Linked DNA regions of Homo sapiens: regions 1, 3, 4 and 5 are each linked to region 2. Evidence: promoter capture Hi-C in 16 types of primary human blood cells and fetal thymus (Javierre and others, 2016). All regions are on one chromosome and are shown on one strand. Each heading gives the region's core, a stretch centred on a gene start or on the middle of the fragment in contact. The rest is flanking DNA. Distances are from core to core; before and after follow the strand shown. Region 1 overlaps CACNA1I (calcium voltage-gated channel subunit alpha1 I). Region 2 holds the start of ENTHD1 (ENTH domain containing 1). Region 3 has its middle 140 kb from the start of CACNA1I. Region 4 overlaps ENTHD1 (ENTH domain containing 1). Region 5 overlaps ENTHD1 (ENTH domain containing 1).

Region 1 (2,700 bases), core at 87-2,586, 220 kb after region 2:
GTGCACGCATGTGTGCACGTGTGTAAACTTGGGAGAAGAGAACATGAAGGCACGTGCAAGCAGAGTCTGGCTCTCAGATACCACATTACAAGAATGTGGGTGCAGCCACAGGGTGAGTGGGGCATGCACAAAAACATGTGGACACAAGGCGTGGGTGTCACTGTAGAAAAGCCCCCGAGGACGGGGCATACTCATGGAAACTGAGGTCTATGAAGTGTGTGAATGGGTGGGCCATGAACTGTCACGGGCACAAAGGACCAGCGTGAGTGGCCACATCTCTTCTCTTCCCCTCTCGATAAAGAGGACTCTGGCATCACTCGCTGAGTTTCTGGCAGGCAGAAGAGCAAGAGGCACCTGGGCTCGCCCTGAGGCAGGAGGCTTTTAAAAGAAGTGTACGAACTACCTTGAGGGGAGGGAGAAGGATCTCTGAAGACCGTGCGTCCCAGTCACTGTGTTTGAGAAATGCCAGCGAGGAACTGGAGGTGTTTCACATCTTCCCAGTTGGACTGGGTTCCTTGCATCACACTCTGAGACTGGACCCCATGGGTCATGGCGTCATAAGGAAGTGGGAGTGTGTGTCCATGTGTGCTATGCAAAGTTGCCTGTGTGTTGGGGGAGGTGTGTGCACACAGAGGGTGCATGCGTGTGTGTTGGCTGTGTGCCTCCCAGCTCCTTCTCACCCCTGTTCAGCAAGGAGCCCACCATGCCTGCAAACTCCTGCCCCCACCCCTCCCCACCCCACTCCTGTGTGTTCTCATCAGGCAATGAGGAGTCTCATCCCGCCCCTGCTTGTCCCCGTTCCCTGTCCCACCCCTTGCCCCTCACCTCGGGCAATGCGCAGAACCCTCATGATGCGGATGATGGTGGGATTGATGGGCAGGGCCGCATTGATCTCGATCTCCTCCAGGGTGATGCCCATGACTGACAGTAGCACAATGGCCAGGTCCAGCTGGTTCCATCTGCTCAGCCGTGCATGGGAGGGCAGGAGTGGGCATGAGGAGGATCCCTCTGGTTCAGACACACCTTAGTGGGGGGAGCCTCCCAGGTCCTGACCCTTCTATTGTGGCCCATTAGGCTGTGTGGCTGCCCTCCCTTACTAGCCCCTCCTAACGCCACTGGGTCCAGGCCCCTCTCTGCTCCCCATAGCCATCACTCCGTCAAGCAAGGGGCTGATCAGGCTAAATAAATATCTCTGGCCTCCTGCAGGAGAGGAGGCATGGACTATGACTTCCAAGTCTAATCTTGAGCTGGCTGCTCTCTCTGTCTGGCCTTAGGCTAGTCCATCAACTTCTTTGAGCCTCACTATTCCCTTCAAAAAGGAGTATTAGCATGAGGCAGACCCTGCTCTGCCCATAGGGTAGAGACAACGTACCAAAGATGAGCCAAGAAGGGCCAGGTAGAATGCCCTACGCCCATCAGATGATACCATAATTATTTCCTGTTCAGAGCTATAAGCAGCAGCTGGGGTGCCTGTCCATCCGTGCCTAGATGCTTACTGGTTCCCCTCTTCAGGCTGCTCCAGACTTCCCTAAGGGTCAGGACTGCTTCTTCATCCTGCAGTCTACCCTATTACTGCCCTAATCCAGCCTGGCCACTCACCGGTCCTTGAAGAAGCGCCTCAGACCAAATGCCACCAGCTTCAGCACAGCCTCCAGCACAAAGACAGTGGTGAACATATAGTTGCAGTACTTGAGGGCTGTCTCCAGGGACTATGGAGGAACAAAGAGAAGCATGATCCAGGGCACATGACCTGCTCCACAACCTTCCTCCACTCAGAAAGTCTCTGCCTTTTAAGGAGAGAATTTAGTCCATTTACTTTTAGTGTAATTATTTATATGCTGCTTTTATTCTTTCCATCTTAGTGTGTACTATTTATTTTATGCTGCTATTCCTTCTGTTCCCTTTTTCTTATTTATGTGTATCTGGTCGAGTTGGTACCTTTGGAGGCAATATAGGGTATTAATGAAGAGCTACTGAGCCAGACTGCCTACATTTGAATCCTGGCTTAGTGCTCACTCCATATTCACCTTATGATCTTGAGTAAGTCATTTCATCTTAGAAAGCTGGTATGCAAATTAAATGAGCTGATAGTTCGGTGCTGGAAACAGAATAATACTTGGTAAATGTAAGCTATTAATATTCCATTTTTCCTGTTAATTTGGAAGTTGTATAATTATTGTTTCATTCTGCCAATGGTTATCTTTCTTTTTTCTGCATTCATAATATTCCTCTCCCATCATTTGAAATAAGGTATTAATTTCACACCTGGCGGCTCTGCTTCCCTCTTCTTCCCCTCCAACTCCATCAGGGTTTTTAGAATGCACTTGCTCCTCACATGCCCCTCACATACCTGGTCTGCAACAAGCTGGGAAATGGTCATCCTCACCCACCCCCAGTGTTTGCCTGAAATGGTCCTTCCACCCTTTTGCCTCGTCTCCATATACCCAGGTAGTAAAGGAGGCTACATGGTAGGCTTTGAATGCAAATCTAAGTTCCAGACCTGGTTCCACTACCTATGGCTGAGTAATTTGGGCAGCATATTTAACCTCTCTAAGCCTCAGGCTCTTCACCTATAAAATCCAGACAAAGGATTCCCCCTGCCAGCCTTAGGATTGCTGCGAGGATTAAAGAGTTCATATATGTAGCGTGCCTTGCAAAGAGTCAATATTTAACACATCACAGTCATTGCCACCCATGTGC
Region 2 (2,700 bases), core at 92-2,591:
CCTTCCTCTGCTGCTCCACTAATAGCCTTTGTGACAGTTGTAGTAACTACAGTACATGTAGTTTTTCCAAGATAATAGGCTGGCTCAGCTTTCATGCCTTTACACATGATGTGTCCTTTGCCTCTTACGTCCTCCTCTACTTTGTCTATCCAGTGAACTCCCTGTCATCCTTTAAGATTCAATTCAGATGTAAACTCTTCTGTGAAACCTGCCCTTAAATACTCAGTGGCAGAATTAGATGATCTCTTCTCTCTTACTATGCCATACATATCTTGTTACAATCTTCTCTGACGGTGCCTGTCACCTCCACTAGCCTGTAAACGTATCCAGCAGAGGGCTGCTTTTTATCTCCGAGTCCTTACTGTCTGGCACAAAGTGGGTGCTCACGGAAAATCAGTTGAATACATCAACAATTACCCGTCAGTGGCACCTGAAGCCATCAGTCACTGGAGCTACCCCATCATTGTCCATCACACACACTGCTCTTCATAGACTACTATTACATTCTCAGTCCTTTGAGGTGGCAATCACGTGCTGGTGGTATTTCTAGTCAGTTGAAATGACAGTAGTAACACACTTTTAAAAATGTATTCATGTGCCATGCTGGTGCGCTGCACCCACTAACTCGTCATCTAGCATTAGGTATATCTCCCAATGCTATCCCTCCCCCCTCCCCCCACCCCACAACAGTCCCCAGAGTGTGATGTTCCCCTTCCTGTGTCCATGTGTTCTCATTGTTCAATTCCCACCTATGAGTGAGAATATGCGGTGTTTGGTTTTTTGTTCTTGCGATAGTTTACTGAGAATGATGATTTCCAATTTCATCCATGTCCTTAAAACTTAAATAATAATAAATAAAAAAAAAGAGATATTATGCTAGAAGTCTGAGTATTTTACTGATTTTCCATTTTAAGAATAAATTATCATGGCAAATTTTAAGTTACATACATTATTTTATTGTCTACTTTTTAAAAACATTATCAGCTTACCTTGGCATTTTTTTTCTTTTTTTAATGTCCGTTTTTACGTTGTGAACATTTAGTAAATTAATTTATACTCATTTTTATTTAATTAAGAAAGCAGCTAAGAATAAATGCTAGTGTCTGATTAAACTATTTCCCAGATCTCAAAAAAAAAAAAAAATTTATTCTTTGAAAGGAGGATTAGGGCAGTGTCACAGCCCGGCAGCCTGTGAAACGAAGACACTTACCTTCATTCCCCTTGGTACCCTCCAGCTCAGGTATCTGCAACCATCTTGCTTGACGCCCTGACAGGAACTGCACCAGGCCAGAAAGTGAGGAAGCGGAAGTGGGGACCGGCCTGGGCCCTTGAGCCTGGCTGGAGTAGGTGGAATATCCTGGGGAGAGGAAGTTTGGTCGTTGGGCAGCGGCCGACTTTCCTCTCAGGTAACAGCCTCTGCTTGGGAGTGGTGGTGGGGCTCAAGGCGGGTCTGGAAACATCGGTTGCCTTCCCTCCTCCCGTTTCTTGCCGGCACCGTCGGAGTCCAGGTGGGGGCGGGAGGGCGGCGAGGCCATTACCATCCGCAGGAGGTGAAATCCCTGTGGCGTGACGTGACGCCATCACGTCCCTCTCTCCTTCTAGAGGCTTTCCTGAGGTCCAGCCTTCCCCTCCACTGCCGGTTCTCCTAGGGTAATTGCTGGTCTGATTCTCTGTGTGGCCGAACGCCCAGCACCTGGCTCATCTGGTACACAGTCGTCATCTGAAGTGGGGGTTGTATGAATGAAGACGAGGATGCCGAGGAAAGGCCCTGCCCACAGAAAGTTGATTCTTGCTCAGCCTCCACCCGCCATTTTCAAAATTCTTTCCAAAGCATCTCGTTTCTTCCTCCCCCACGGCCCTGTCTGGCGATTATTCTTTGTGTTGCGGATGAGGGAACTGAGACTTAGAGAAGTTGTTAAGTCTTAGTTAGGAAATGGCAAAGCAGGACCTCAAATCATGGCTTTGAATCCTAATTAAAGGAGAGAGATGAGGCATGTGAAGGCCCAGGTGTGAGCACATTGTGAGCGTTCAATGAAGAGTAGCTGTTTACTCCAGGGTGTGAGGACTGTGTCTTGTGCACCTGTTTCTCCATTTCCTAGAATGGAGCCTGCCACATGGTAAGCTCTGGAAGATTATTAGTTGAATAAATTAATGAACACACACTTAGGGCTGGAAAAGATTAGATTCTCTGCCTCTGACAGTATTCTTTTCATCAAAACAGTAACACCTCCTAATGGCATGGTAGTCTCTATAACCATTTTCCCGTAGCATTCTTGGCCAGAGCTCATTTCCTTACGAGTCAAACTCATGTCTATAGGCAGAACCTGTACAAACACAAGAGCTGTTCTTTTCTCATAGTTCCACCTTAAATGCATCTTTTCAGAGATAGCTCTGGACACTCAGCCTCTTAGATGCTATTGTCATTATTGTCCCAAGTCTTTGGATAAAGTCAGTTCAGCTCCTCTGTTCCTTATTCTCAATCCTGAAATCCAAAAACTTTTGGAAATCAACTTTTCCTCCAACTCATTTGGTGGTAAAACTTGGCCTGAGGCCATTTGTAGTCTTTATTCCAAATATTTACATGTTTTTATTGCAGACATGTTAATGTGTTTAATTGTTCAGAGCAGCTCCACACCTTACTGTGGGTATCATGTAATATATGGTATAGACATGGCACTACTCTTGAAAATTCCACCCCTA
Region 3 (2,700 bases), core at 186-2,685, 180 kb after region 2:
GCGCACTGTGGCCACAGCTTATATAAGTTAAAGAATAAAAAACTCTCTCCTAGCAAGACATTTCCCACCCTCGCCCCGCTCCCCCCACCCCCTGACGAGCAGGGACACTTCTTGCCAGGCAGGTTTCAAGGCACAGGCGGCCCCGTCCTCATCTTGACGAGGACCATCTGGGTCCTTGCCAGGTCCTCTTCTTAGGCTCCTAGAATCGGGGACCCACTTGTCCAAGCACCTGAGGGATTTCCAGATGGATCCAATCCTGACGCCACTGGGGTCCACCCCAGGTCCTCCCAGTGAGAACATGCAATGAAAAGTAAAATGTTGCGAGTCTGCAGTGAGTGAGCTGAGAGCACGGGGACCCTAAGAGCTGCATGGCTCCCTGCCGTGGATGTGACGTGTCAACCTAACAAACTGGAAGAGGCTTTCTACAAAAAATGAGGTTCATTTGGGAACGGGCGCTACGTGGAAATATGTGTGCCGTGGTAAACTGCATGTGCGTCCAGGGAGGTCAAGGAAGGCAAAGGTTTTTAAAGGAAAATGAAGAGGATTAGGTCATCATTTTAAGATAAGTATCCTTGGCTGCTAGAATCAGGAACAAGGGTGGCACCAATCCAAGGCTGGACAGGCAGCTGCTGGGCCGATGTCCTCCAGGAGCGGTTTTCTGTGTAAGGTTGCAATGGCCTTTGTGCAAAGTGGTGGTTTTTAAAGAGACTTTTATGATAGTTCTTGGTATCAGGCATTCATGCACGAGAACCCTCCCTTTGTAGCCTTCTCTGGCTCTGTTTGTCAGGGTTTTAAACACAAGTGACTCCATTTTTACCCTGACAACTTTCACCAAAGACACGGTGAGGGCAGCTGTGCCTGAGCAGAATCTGGGAGAAAAGGCAGCTGGCTGAGCAGCTTTGGCCTCAGAGCTCTTTGCCCCGGAGCAGAAATCCCAGGTGGCACCTCCATGCCCTCAGGGCAGGGCACCTGTTCTCCAAGGAGAGAGAGAGCAGAGCGGGTGCTGGCAGCTGAGGGGCATGTAACCTGGGTGCCCGGAGGCTGGCCGCCTTCCTTCAGGATCCAGCTTCAGGACCCTGCTGGTTCTGGGCAAGCTTCTCCTCTGTTTTGGGGGCTCCATCTGAGTGGAAGTTTCTGATCTACAGCAGGGTTCCCGGGAGCGGCAGATTCGGGCAATCTCATGGGCTGCAATTTGGGACAGAGCTAGTGTTCTGGAGGAGATGGGACACTGGGGACAGACAAGTCCCAGACAGGCGGTGGCATTACCTAGTGCAGTGAGAGCGGAGAGGGTTTTGCAGCTCGGGGAGGGCTTCCTGCAGAAGGCAATGCCACTGGAGCATCTTAAAAATTAGAAGTCCTTCTAAGACTCATAGGAATTATTTGGCAAAACACAGGAGGTTGGGAGGGGAAGGACATTCGGGCCGCCGGGGTGTGGGGTGGAGGACAGCATGAGACCCAGAGCTGTAGCCAGCATGGCATTTAGAGGGGAGCCAGTTATCATCCCAAAAGACTTAATTCTGGACACCTTCATCCTGAATGTTGAAATCCCAAAGCTATCACTTCTGGAAAAAATAATTTAAAAGTCTTTAAAAGATGTTTATTTACAATTTTAAAAGATTTATTTAAGAAACATATAAAAGCACAACAGAACACTTCACAGGCCAGTTTACACCATAAAACAGGCAATAACACCATACATATTTTTGCAAGCAGAAACACCCAGGTATGCTAATGATGGTCACCGAGGTGCAAAAATTATGAGCAGGCAAAGCTTATTCATAAAGAAATAGGGAAAGTATACATGCACATCACCGAGTATAACAATTATAAGCAGACAAACCGTATTCATAAAGTGAGTCAAAAAGGGACAAGGTACACGCACATCACCAAGGGAGTGTGTGCACTCAGCTTCATAACTGTGGTCATCTGAAATATTACATGACGGACAACCTAAGCCTTTTGATGAAATTGACCAAAAGCCACAATGGGTCGTCACGGCGTGTGCAGGCACCCAAATAGCTGAGATCTCGAAAGATTTTATTTCACAAATGCAGATGTACATAAAGGACATTTCTTCATCTATTGAGGAGGATTCAATGTTTCTGTGTTGAAAACCAGGAAAGCCGATGATCTATATCTCAGGCTGAGGCCAAAAGCCTCAAGGCCCCGGGGCGGGGGGATGCTGGTTAAGTCCTGGAGTCTAAAGGTTAAGAGCCTGGCATTCTGATGTCGAAGGCAGCAGAAGGAAAGGCTGTCCCGGCTCTCGGAGATTCGCCTTCGGCATTTGTTCTCTCCCACCCGCTGGCTGCTTGGATGGTGCCCGCCAACACTGAGGACAGAGCATTCCACCCAGCCTACTCAGACCCACACACGGGTCTCCCCTGGAGACCCCTCACAAACACACCCAACACAGTCCTTCACCCGGTCCTTCCTCCGGGCAAGAGGACGCCTAAAATTCATCCACAAATCTACCCTTGTCAACCTGGCACCCGTACGCATGTCCTGAAGCCACACTTAATTTCCAAATAAAGACAATAGCAAGGTCATAGTTCTGCCTAACACGATGCAATAGCCTGTGACTGTGATTTTCGGGATTTTAGAATTTAAGGATTTTAGACAATCGGGATTTAGACTTTAGGGATTTTGATCTTCAGGGATTTTGACCTTTTGGGATTTTGACATTCAGGATTATGGCATTTG
Region 4 (2,700 bases), core at 112-2,611, 150 kb after region 2:
TGAAGGAACACAGTGTTTCTCAGAAAAGTTTGGGAAATGATTTAGAATAAAGTGTGGGAGATTTAATATGATTTTGCCAGAAAGGAAGTAAAAACTTTCCCAAATATGTAATTTTATGGAAAAAAAGGCTTAGAATGCTTTTTACTTCACTTAGTTTCTTGGTGAGAAAAAAAATGATTATATACGTGTGCTAAAGTATTCTAGATTTCAGATGTGTTGGACTTCAGTCTTGATTATATTTCACTATAGACAGAAAAATATTTATTTCACTAACTTTTGGGTACTTGTAGTTGGTAGTTCATTTTGCCATAATAATCTCTACAGGAAAAAAAATTAAAAAGTTGAAGGAATCTGTTACAGGTTTCTCACTTTCTACTTTAAATACCAACTTAAAATGCTGGCAGTCAGTAGAATGGGGTTTAATACTTTTCTACTCTCTCTGATTAAGTTTAGTGTAAAAATATGTTGGGCAGGGTTTGAGTCAAGATGAGTCAAGATGAATATTGATAATTCTATTTTAGTTTCATTTCCATGGTATTATTGATATATAATACATCTGTAGATTTTCTTAGTTTCCTGCTTTGGGTTTTTTTAAGCTTATTATGAATAGTTAACATTTAAAATTCTAAGCAGTTTATTTATGTTGAGCCCTTCCAGATAGGCTTTTACATTATAAAATTATTTTAGCTATTACTCTCATTTGTATGTTGCATAAATCTTTTTTCTCTCATTTACACATTTTAGTTTCAACTGCTTCTGAGGGAGCATCTTCCTTTTCTCCTTTATCCATGTCATCTCCTGATTTAGCCTCTCCAGAGAAGTCAGCTCATCTCTTATCACCAATTCTGGCCGGACCTTCCTTCTGGACTCTGTCCCATCAACAGTTGTCTTCTACCTCCTTTAAAGATGAAGATAAGACAGCCAAGCTGCATCACTCCTTTGCTTCTAGGGGCCCAGTGTCTTCTGATGTAGAGGAAAATGATAGCCTCAATCTACTGGGAATTCTTCCAAATAACTCTGATTCTGCTAAAAAGAATATAAGTCACATTTCTAGTAGTCACTGGGGGGAGTTTTCCACCCAAAATGTAGACCAGTTCATCCCTCTGTCCTGTTCTGGTTTTCAGTCAACCAAAGACTTCCCCCAGGAACCTGAAGCAAAGAATTCCATTAGTGTTCTTTTAAGGGAGGTAAAACGTGCGATCGCTAGATTACATGAAGATCTGAGCACAGTGATCCAAGAACTTAATGTCATCAATAACATCTTGATGAGCATGAGTCTGAATAGTTCACAAATAAGCCAGTCTTCCCAGGTCCCCCAGTCTTCTGAGGGGAGCTCAGATCAGATCTAATCATCACAATATCTATTTTTGATAGAACTCGTGTGGTTCCACTTCCCCAAGACTTACGTTAGCATTGTATAAATTCATATTATTATGGCAAAAAAGGGGATGGTTTAATTTTTCCTTGTCAGGTTTATTAGCAAGTATCTTTCAAACTAATACTTTCATTTGGGTGGTTTATTTTTTAAAAGGGAAAGATGTCACCTTTGATAATTTCAGATTTAGATATTAGTTCATTTGAAACAGAAGAGAATTTCATTCTTTCATGCTCTGTACCTCAAATGGGTTAAGCATTAGTGAAAATTGTGGTAAGACCTCAAACTGCAAATGACTATTCAAGAGCTTTTGGATAAGGAGGCAGGAAGAAGCTCTTTATCTTTCAACTGTATGGAGCTTGTTAACAAGCCTCTGAGGTGACCTAGGAGGATTGAGTTTGGGGGTATACATTTCACACATTCTTTTGCAAGTTTTAGGTTCTGCAACCAAGGGCCAGAAATCTTTTCTTTCTTCCAGATGCTAGTGTTAGGAGTTAAATGGAAACAAGAAGGACATGGGGCAAATGTTTTTACTGTCAATGTATATTGCAAGGTGAATTCAAATGCATCCTTTTATTCTACTTCAGAAAATAAATTTGATATTTTTCATCTTCTGTGTATCTTTTTAATTCATTAAGACAGCCTTTCAAATAGAAATGTCTGTTATTTATGGGCAAAACAGTCCGGTTTGGGGATTACAGGCCAGTGATTCCCAACCCTGCTGCACACTGGAATCACCACAGAAGCTTTTCTTTTGTTTTATATTTGTCTGAGAGAATCGTGTAATGGGCTCCATGTGCCCATCACTCAGTTTCAACAATTACCAACTCGAGGCTAAAATAATCCTGATTATTTTGAAGACATACGAAACATTTTAAAAATATACTAATGCCAGGGTCCTGCTCCCAGACAAATTGAAACTGGTTTTCATCATGCAGACTGGATTAAGTGATAAAGGAATTGTCAGTGAAAAGACCTTAAAGCTGGAGGAATTTGGCGTGGTTGAAGAATGGCAAGAAAGCTGGTGTGGCTGGAGTGAAGTGAGCAAAGGGGAGAGTAGACGGAGTTCAAGGTCATGGAGCAAAGATGACAGATGACATAGGTTCTTAAAAACCACTGTTAGAGAGACCTGGTGTGGCAGCTTACATCTGTAATCCCAGCACTTTGGGAGGCCGAGGCAGGTGGATCACGAGGTCAGGAGTTCAAGACCAGCCTGGGCAAGATGGTGAAATCCCGTCTCTACTAAAAATACAAAAAAAAATTAGCCGGGCATGGTGGCGGGCACCTGTAATCCCAGCTACTCGGGAGGCTGAGGCAGAGAATCG
Region 5 (2,700 bases), core at 23-2,522, 130 kb after region 2:
AGAATTTGCATCTAGAAACTCGGACCAGGTCTATAATGCGTAGATTCAATAGACATTCCTGGATCAGGCCCACCTTCAGTTTCAGTTTCTTACAATTCCTTCAGTGTTTTCTATTTGTAATAAATATTGTTTGTTATATTCTAGGGACTATTTTATGTACTTTGGTGATATTAACCACTAGAATGGACAAAGATCTCCAGCCCAGTGGAACTTATATTTTACTAATTGTCAGAACAGCTCTGAAAGATTGTTTCCTTTCTTCCGTATAGACAAAGCATTTATTAAAATTAAGCTTCTACCTAAAGTACTGAGTTTCTTTAATGTGCCTTGCATATAGAAACTGTGTGGAAGAAGACATTCTTTATTTTTGGGGAGAAAGCTTTTCTTTTTCTTTCTTTTTTTTTTTTTTTTTTTTTTTTTTTTTTGTAGCTGAGGGTTCTGTAAGGATAGACCAGTATGATGTGGCATATTTTCCCTAGTTTATCTTGTAAAAAAGATGAAAGTTGGAAAGTACTAAAAATATGGTGGTTTCAGCGACAGATAAGTGGGTGAAGGGAGAAATATTTAAAGACAAGTTATTTGAAGCTTTCCTTGCTTTGTGCTTCAGTGAGGAGAGAGGGAGAAGGCAGCTACCAAAATGACTAAGGCGTCAATTATAGCTTGGGTGTACTTTAAATAGGCAGAATATAGAAGCATAGTAAGAAAGCAGAGGGCTAAATAGGAAAGAATTCTGTTATGACATTAAAAAATCCTATTTATTAAAATTATAACAGATTTGAAATAGAGTATTTTCAGTTTTATTTTTTGATTATAGCTCTTATTTGTTCTTTTATAGATGCTGTGCCTACTCTCTCAGAAAATAGTCCTTCTGGGCAGAGAGATGTGAGTTTGGACAAGAGATCAGATGGTATCTTTACAAATACTGTCACAGAAAACCTCTTGGAAACACCTTTAGAAAAGCAATCAGCTGCAGAAGGTCTTAAAACATTGACAATTTTACCAGCATGTTGGTCAAGTAAAGAGGAGTTTATCAGCCCCGACTTAAGGGTATCAAAGTCAGATTCTACTTTCCATAACCAGGCCTCTGTAGAAACACTCTGTCTCTCTCCCTCATTCAAAATATTTGACCGAGTGAAGGAGATTGTAATCAACAAGGCCTACCAGAAACCAGCACAATCCAGCATTCAGATGGATGATAAAATCCTCAAGACAACCACACGGGGTGAGTCTGCCAAACACACACACACACACACACACACACACACACAACAAAAAACCTCTTTTGAAGCATTATTTTACTTTTCTCTGCTTTCTGTCTCCTTTTTTTGTTCCCTCCTTTCACTCTTCATCATTGATATTAAAATGTACATGCCATACACATACTTCTTAGTTGGGAAAGTCCCCCTTTTATTAAAGGGCTAATAGATAATTCATCACCGTGGGTTCTGAGTCCTTGGTTGAATATAAGATCTGAGCAATTTTGGTGCAGACCAAATTAGAAGGAACTAGTGTGAAGTAAGTGCTTTCTGTTAGACATGTAGGTTACTTATTAAGAGATTATATGAAAAAGAATTGGTTATTATGTGTATTGGTGTATACACACACCCCCACATACACACGGGTGTATGTGTGCCCCTTTAAAAAGGGCTGTGTACTGATTGCACAAAAGGGGCAGGGGATCTTGTCTTTTTTATATTATATATATTTTATATTATAAAGATATAAAAAACCTTAAGAAGATTGCAGTATTGTTTAGACTGGGTAATAAAGGATAAAGCCAGTTGAGATTTCAGGTTATTGGCTCTCAGTTACTAAATCCTCTATTATATAATTATGCTTTCTACTTTAAAGTTTACTAGTAAAATAATAATTTTTATGAATTTTTCAAAGACTAAGTAGTAGTTTTATTGGTTCTTACATATAATAGTGCTAACCAACTCATATAAATATAAAGCTTTTTAAATGTATTTATTTTTATTAGAGACAGGGTCTTGTTCTGTTGCAATCAGTGCAATCATAGCTCACTGCAGCTTCAAACTCCTGGGCTCAAGCAATCCTTCCACCCCTCAGCCTTCCAAATAGCTACGACTACAGGTGCATGCCACCACTCCTGGCTAATTTTATTTTTGTGTGTGTGGAGGTGGGGTCTTGCTATGTTGCCCAGGTTGGTCTTGAACTCCTGGCCTCAAGTGATCCTCCTGCCTCAGCCTCCCAAAGCTCTGGGATCACAGGCATGATCCACTGTGTCTGGCCAATAAAGATTTTAACGTGAATCTTTTAAACAGACTCAAACCCAGATCAAAAGTACATATAAATATAAACAATGGAAGCCACCATGTTGAAGTTAAAGAAATTTATATTGGTATTAGTAAGGTCAATGAGTAACAAAAGATTTTCCTTGGTGCTCTTTCAAGACTTTTTTGATACTGAATAGCCTAAAGGTAGTAAAACTGATTCTCAGTTTTGTCAACCAATTAACTTTTCTTCTGAGACTGCTGATGTGGAAACCTGTTAGTACTGGTTATGATGGCTCTGATGGATTATGTGCCTGGCTGTCGCTGGGAAGTTGATACGTTTGGTTTTTTTATTTCATGAATACCACAAAAAGATCATTGAAAATACTTTTTGGTCGCTGTGAGTGTACCAAGTACACTTAAAATTTAGCGAGAAGTTCCTCTAAAACTGGTTAACAAGGAGAAC

The links. Contacts are between HindIII fragments. The CHiCAGO score rates a contact against its expected background, and 5 or more counts as called.
Region 1: a contact is called between a fragment that was not itself captured here and the fragment with the promoter of ENTHD1 in region 2, in 1 of 17 cell types (naive CD4 T cells). The highest score is 5.9, in naive CD4 T cells.
Region 3: a fragment that was not itself captured here is called in contact with the fragment with the promoter of ENTHD1 in region 2 in 3 of 17 cell types (activated CD4 T cells, megakaryocytes and naive CD4 T cells); the score reaches 5.4 in activated CD4 T cells.
Region 4: a fragment that was not itself captured here is called in contact with the fragment with the promoter of ENTHD1 in region 2 in 4 of 17 cell types (megakaryocytes, naive CD4 T cells, activated CD4 T cells and 1 more); the score reaches 7.2 in megakaryocytes.
Region 5: a fragment that was not itself captured here is called in contact with the fragment with the promoter of ENTHD1 in region 2 in 1 of 17 cell types (megakaryocytes); the score reaches 9.3 in megakaryocytes.

What each region holds. Positions count from the first base shown.
Region 1 is chr22:39,671,208-39,673,907 of GRCh38, reverse strand. It overlaps CACNA1I (calcium voltage-gated channel subunit alpha1 I), which reads right to left. Exons shown (of 37, transcript NM_021096.4): 27 at 1,600-1,709; 28 at 826-959. Among named protein-coding and RNA genes, the nearest start is that of CACNA1I, 100 kb to the right of the region's middle. The HindIII fragment of the contact is 2,897 bases long and covers 1-2,700 here.
Region 2 is chr22:39,892,401-39,895,100 of GRCh38, reverse strand. It overlaps ENTHD1 (ENTH domain containing 1), which reads left to right and starts at 1,341. Exons shown (of 7, transcript NM_152512.4): 1 at 1,341-1,406. It also overlaps a transcript of GRAP2 not described here. The HindIII fragment of the contact is 18,515 bases long and covers 1-2,700 here.
Region 3 is chr22:39,708,825-39,711,524 of GRCh38, reverse strand. No RefSeq gene overlaps it. Among named protein-coding and RNA genes, the nearest start is that of CACNA1I, 140 kb to the right of the region's middle. The HindIII fragment of the contact is 677 bases long and covers 1,097-1,773 here.
Region 4 is chr22:39,742,328-39,745,027 of GRCh38, reverse strand. It overlaps ENTHD1 (ENTH domain containing 1), which reads left to right. Exons shown (of 7, transcript NM_152512.4): 7 at 745-1,984. The coding sequence ends at 1,349. Among named protein-coding and RNA genes, the nearest start is that of ENTHD1, 150 kb to the left of the region's middle. The HindIII fragment of the contact is 1,525 bases long and covers 599-2,123 here.
Region 5 is chr22:39,763,745-39,766,444 of GRCh38, reverse strand. It overlaps ENTHD1 (ENTH domain containing 1), which reads left to right. Exons shown (of 7, transcript NM_152512.4): 6 at 836-1,222. Among named protein-coding and RNA genes, the nearest start is that of ENTHD1, 130 kb to the left of the region's middle. The HindIII fragment of the contact is 1,369 bases long and covers 588-1,956 here.